Linked DNA regions of Homo sapiens: region 2 is linked to region 1. Evidence: promoter capture Hi-C in 16 types of primary human blood cells and fetal thymus (Javierre and others, 2016). All regions are on one chromosome and are shown on one strand. Each heading gives the region's core, a stretch centred on a gene start or on the middle of the fragment in contact. The rest is flanking DNA. Distances are from core to core; before and after follow the strand shown. Region 1 holds the start of PRSS37 (serine protease 37). Region 2 holds the start of CLEC5A (C-type lectin domain containing 5A).

Region 1 (2,990 bases), core at 355-2,854:
TGCTCATGTTAGCTATAACAGCTGAACACTGGAAACATAAATATCTGACATAGTAATGTTGGACATTGAAGCACATCAAAAAGTGGAACATCATATATAATAAAAATTAAACTAATTAGAATATTAAACAGCAAAAGAATATTAATGCTTATTTAAGTTAAAAAGAACAAGAAAATTGTGGATATAATCTATTTGTCTAAAAACAAATAAATAAAAACATTTAAATGCAAAAAATATATAGATTCTGAGAGTAAACTCAAAGTGTTAGCATGTGTTGACTAAGAGGTGGGATTATGAATGATGCTTATTTTTCTACTTTAAAAATGTCTAAATTTTGTAATATGAACATATATTGTTTTTATAAATGAATTATTTAAAACATACCCTAGAGAATAAAGGGGAGGAAGGCTGATTCTAGTATCAGAAATAAAGCCCTCTTCTTGTCTTGGCTTCTCTTGCTACTCCTGTTAACCTTCCCCAAGACTGGGTCTGTACCTCACCACACCCTTCTGTGTGATCACACAGTTAGAAACCCCAAAGAGAAAAGGGTAGACTGTAAACAAGGGCAAGAGACATTGAGCTCTCTATAGCAGGCATTGTTCTAAGTGCTTTACATAGATTTATTTAATCTTCACAATAGCTCTATAATATGGGTAGTCATACCCCCATTTTGAAGAAATTGAAGCACAGAAGAGTTAATTAACTTGGCTAATCTCACACAGCTAATGTGTGATACAACCTAGGCAGTCAGAGAATGGTGGGAAATGCCTCATCTGCAAATTCTGCTGTCAGAAGAACCCCATGTGGGGCAAGGACTACAGAAGGTAGGGTCCTAGTACTTGATCTTTTGTTTCTACTTCTCTGTTTTCTGCATTAGTGTCGGTGGGAGGACACTCACTGTTAAGCCTTCTCCAAGGCACATGTGTGCCTTAACCCACCCTATAGCTTAACACTAGAAAAGTGGGCTCAGCCTATCCGGAGAGCCTTTGGATGGAGTCTGAGAGGCAGGACTCCTAATTCTGCTGATGACACTATTTTTGACTCTTTTTCTGCACCCTTCGCAATCCTGCCTCTGTCTCACCCCATCCATTAAACTGTGCCTTACAGGACAGAGTACAAGGTCTTGAGTACATACCAGCGAGGACACCCAAATAGAAGACATATTTCATGGTGATCCAGCTCTTCCCCCTGTGAGATGTAGAAGAAAATCAGCAGAGTGTGGAGCGGTTGGCTTAGTTGTCTTCTCAGGAACACCTGGTAGACTCAGTGGCTATGGTTAGATACGGAGGCACTCCATGGGATTGGAAAGCAGCTCTGGGCATAAACAGGGGAGGGAGATGGCTTCAGAGAGACAGATGAAAGCCCTCTGTTCCAGGGAAGGTGGAGGACTGTGCCTCTGTTGGGGCATTTCAGGGAAGGAAACTCCTGGATTCAGCTCCTTCTATCTGCTGCCCCTAAAAACACATCTGTTTGAAGGTAGTTCAGTTGTCTGTGGAAATGGCAGCTCTAGGCTCAGGACTTATCTTCCCCACAGAGTTTCTGAGACCAGGGCTATGAGGGACAATATTCTTTACCTTAGCTCAGGGAGTAAGTGTCCTGAGGTTTGCTCTGAACCTCCTAATAGTTACTTATACTTTCCCCAGCCCCTCCCATCTTTGTTACACTAGCTTCATATGTCCCTCTGATCACTGTTTCATCACTCAGTCATCATCACCAACTTGGTGTTTTTTGTCCTGAGCAACAGCATTGAGCCAAGAAAATATGGAAATGAAAAGCATTCATAGAACAGTTATCTTGATAGTTGGGGAATTGTTTACAGTCTAGATGACATTAGGCCTGGTGACAATTCAGAAGGCAGTACCTCTAATACTTAAAGACTTAGACCAATATTAGACTACCAAAGTCATCCTTGGATAATTGGGAGCATAGTCTAACAAGAAAATGAGCGGTAACACTAATAGCTGATATCCTCTAAGCATTTACTGAATCCTAGGCACTGAGCTAAGATCTTTACGGACTTGTCAGTAGAGATTTTATATCAGGTTAGTCTGAGATGTAAAATTCACTACACTTTGTATCACTCTAACCCTTTAAAGTTTCTTAAACCCATAATCTCTTTCCAAATGTCACAACAACCCTAGAAAGAAGAGATAGGGCTGGGTCTGGTATCTATTTCTGGTCTGTGGGTGGCAGAACTGAAGCAGAGAGAATCTAAGTAGTTTTCCCAAAGTCACATGTCGTGGACAATGAGAAATAGGCCTTGTCACTGGTGTAGGGTTGCAGGTCCCCCACCAGGATACTTAAGGGTGTATGACCACTGCTTGAACCTTAATGGCTAAGTAGTGAGTCAAGGACACGGTGCCCAGCCAAGAAGCAGGTATCCTTGATGGCCAAGTGGTGAGTCAACGCCATGGTGTCCAGCTGAGGAGCAGGTGTCCTTGAGTACCCAAACATCCCAGAGAATACCTGAGAACCTATCAAGGAAAACAGTCCCATCATGCACACACAGTAGGCAAAGAGCCAGAAAATTAGCTTAAAAGCAGCTTAGAGATGGAAAGCAGGGCAGGTCTCTAAAGGTGTCCTCTGCTATCTAGGAGTGTCTCATATGTAAGTCCTAATAAACTTATCCACTGGCCAAGCTGGACTTGTCTGAGTCATTCTTTGGTCTCTTGGCTCCCTCCTAGTTTGGGGGAAAGGTTTTTTTAAAAATATGATTCTGGATTTTTCTTGTTACAATTGGCATCACAAATGGGGTCAGAGAGACCAAACTTCGAGCCAGGAATGAGTGTCTATGGTGGGGAATCCCTGGGCAGTCGGCAATGTCCATGTGGAGTGGAGTTGCCCAACTGCACAACTTTTGTGGGCCACTGCATGAGTACAGGGATGCTTGGAAAACATGGGCAAGGACTGAATACCTATTGCCAAGAAGCCAAGATATTAAAGTATGATAATGATAGTAAATGTGGTGTTATTGCAATAAGGCTGGCTAA
Region 2 (2,990 bases), core at 334-2,833, 110 kb after region 1:
ATCTGTGGGACTGAAAAGAAAATCAGCTGTTGGCTCAGCCCCAAATGTGACTGCATGATGAATATGACAAACAAGTATCAGCACAGGGGCTGCTAGGGTACTGTGACTATTAGTGGGAAATACTGAACTCTCTGACTCAGTGAAGATGCATAAATGTGGTTTTGTGAATACGTTCCCTTATTCATATTTCTGTCCTGCTGTCTGACATGATAGGAATTGCACCTTCAGATTGCATCATGAGGAAGACACCTCTTAGCTAACTACTGCCTCCCACTCACGTTTCCTTCCTCATTTATTTTCCCTACTGGCTTCTGGGGCTAGAGAAGATTCTAGTTTCTGATTGCAGTAAAATCCTTTCATAGGAGGCTTCTTTAACTAGGCATTTGGATGAATTAATTTATATGTATACAAAGAGAAATTTCTTTCTCAGTTAAATCCTGTTACATTATACTTCAGCTCTTACCATGGCCTTGTCATTGGGTTGAACTGGAGCTGTATTTTAGATTTTGCCAACAATAACAAGCGCTGCCAAGTACTTCAGCTGAGATCACCCAAATAATACTCTACTAGCAAAAGCTTTGCGTGGCGTTCTAACCATCAGAAACTGGTAAGTTCTATATCTCCAAGGTAGACCAAGGAGCCTGGGCCACTGTGTGTGCTGGGGAGTGAGAAAGGCATTGCCAATTGACCTCAGGTTGGGTCAGTTAGTCTCAGGTGGAAAGACTTGGATATGTAACCTTTACACACAACCATGCATTCTGAGAGAAGAGTCAATGAGCAAGACAACATGAAGTCTGGGGCAAGAGGTTGCTCAAATACTCACAATAAAGTAGAAATAAGGTCATTCCAACAACTTTAAGCACTACCACAATAAGCCCAGAGATGATCATGTGCCAGTTCATGATGAAGGAGCTGCAGGGGCCTGTGAAGATTAGAGCACAGCAGCATCAGAATTCGGGTACAAGGCTGCTTTTCACTAGGACATATCCCAGCCTCTCGCTCAGAGTACCCAAAGCAAGGCAGGCTTGGAAGACAGGCATGACATTGACAGGTACCAGGAGGTGACCCAGCGTGGGCCGCGAACACAGAAAGAATCATGTATTGATTGGAGCCTTGGAACTTGGCATACTGCCTCTCCTTCACTCATTCCCTACTCCAGGCCTCAGCCTTGCCCTATTTGTGGCCTCCTAAATTCTGTCTAATAATTAAACCCTCTCCTGTATTTTGAGAACCCTTATCCTTGAAATGACCCTTGTTCCCAAGGACCTTAGTCTGTAGCCTTCACCATACTGACTTAAGTTGTCAGAAGCCTCAGTCTTCCAAATACCAGGGGTAGGTGACAGACAGGACAGGCATCCCTGAAGGTCTTGGCATTGGTCAACAGTCCATGCAGCCAAGACAGACAGACAGACTCACCTCTTTCTCCCTGGAAGGCTAGGCTTGCTTGCAGATGGGGGTCTTCCTGGTGGCCTAATGCTTGGTGTGGCAGGCAGGGGCCCCGTCTCCTGAGAATATGCTCCTTTTGCCCAAGCAACGTTCTTCCTTCTTCACAGTCTCTGCCTTGGTAGCATCCCCAAGAAATACCTCTTCCTGTTCAGTGGGGTTCTTGGCAAAGGGAGCAGGCGGGGCAAAGAAGGGAAGAGACTCTCTAGCCCTAGTGGTGGCAAGAGCAGACTTCCTGCCAGGAGAGTTCTAATGCAGAGGAACATTTTAAGGACAATTTGGAAAACAAAATACCTCAACACAGATTCACCCTTCCTCTGTGTCTAAATCTCCTTGAAATACAGTGGGAAGAGAAATGTAGTAAAATTTTAACAAACATTGAATCTGGATAAAAGGTAGCTGGAAGTTATTTGTACTTTCCTTACAACATTTCTGCAAGTCTGAAATTATGTCAAGTTAAAAATGTTAAGAAATCCAGTTGAAGACACTAATATGAATGAGCAGGTTCTTGCTGTTCCATTTGCTCCATTTGCTGGAGCTCTGCTCATTCCCCTTTATCATGGACTCCTCTCTGGCACCACCTGCTCACCTTCCAGACCTCATGGTGGCTCTTCAGTGTTTCTTGAACATGGCACTCTGCTGGATACAGCAGTGGGCTGGGGTGAACAATACTCAAGTCCTATTGTCAAGGAGTTTTTAATTTCGTGTTAAATTTGAAAATTTGCTTTTATTTTCCCTACTATGAAAACTACTGTGCTCATGACAAAAAAATGGCTGGAAAATATTAACAAGGAAAATTGAGAAAACAAAACCATTTATAACCTTGTACATTTAGTTATAGTCATTGCTAGCACCTCAGGGTGTATCCTTTCGAGATGAGTAGGTAGATAGAAAGATAGATGGATAGATAGATAGATAGACAGAAAAACACTGGTTCACAAAGAACAATGGGAACATATTGTACATATTGTTTTGCAATCTATCTGCTCAAGATTAAGCTAACACTATGTTATATATATCTTTTCATGTCAAAATATAGATTTTGATAATGTATTATTTAATATGTGCATAGCATTCAGGTGTAAAACTATATGATTTATTTATTCAGGTGTAAAAGTATATTATTTCTTTAACAATTGCATAACCACAAATCTTCTAGTAAAGTGTGGTGGACAAGAACAAAGTTTTAAAAATCAGTCCTGCTTTTGATTCCTGGAGCTGACCTTCACTAGCTGAACATCCTTGATTAAGTTACTGAGTCTCTTTACCTTCCATTTCTTTATCTATAAATAGGAGTAATTATAGTAAATACCACATAGGATTGTTCCGAGAAATGAGCAAGATAATGCTTGTAATTTCAATAGCGTGATACTCAGCATCTTAAACATAAATCCTTAGTATTCTAACTATTTTCTAAAACTCTTCTAACTATCTTCCCAATGCACAGTGAACAGCTAAGTGCATGCATCCTTTTACATGTCCTTAATAACTTTCTTGGGCTAAGTTATCAGAAATATAAATGCTGGATCAAAAGACATGTACATTTG

The links. Contacts are between HindIII fragments. The CHiCAGO score rates a contact against its expected background, and 5 or more counts as called.
Region 2: a contact is called between the fragment with the promoter of CLEC5A here and the fragment with the promoter of PRSS37 in region 1, in 5 of 17 cell types (monocytes, naive CD8 T cells, megakaryocytes and 2 more). The highest score is 9.3, in monocytes.

What each region holds. Positions count from the first base shown.
Region 1 is chr7:141,839,881-141,842,870 of GRCh38, forward strand. PRSS37 (serine protease 37) reads right to left here and starts at 1,605. Exons shown (of 5, transcript NM_001008270.3): 1 at 1,136-1,605. The coding sequence starts at 1,169. The HindIII fragment of the contact is 13,045 bases long and covers 1-2,990 here.
Region 2 is chr7:141,945,391-141,948,380 of GRCh38, forward strand. It overlaps CLEC5A (C-type lectin domain containing 5A), which reads right to left and starts at 1,584. Exons shown (of 7, transcript NM_013252.3): 1 at 1,417-1,584; 2 at 824-922; 3 at 1-10. The coding sequence starts at 902. RefSeq lists an enhancer at 66-1,265. The HindIII fragment of the contact is 3,527 bases long and covers 575-2,990 here.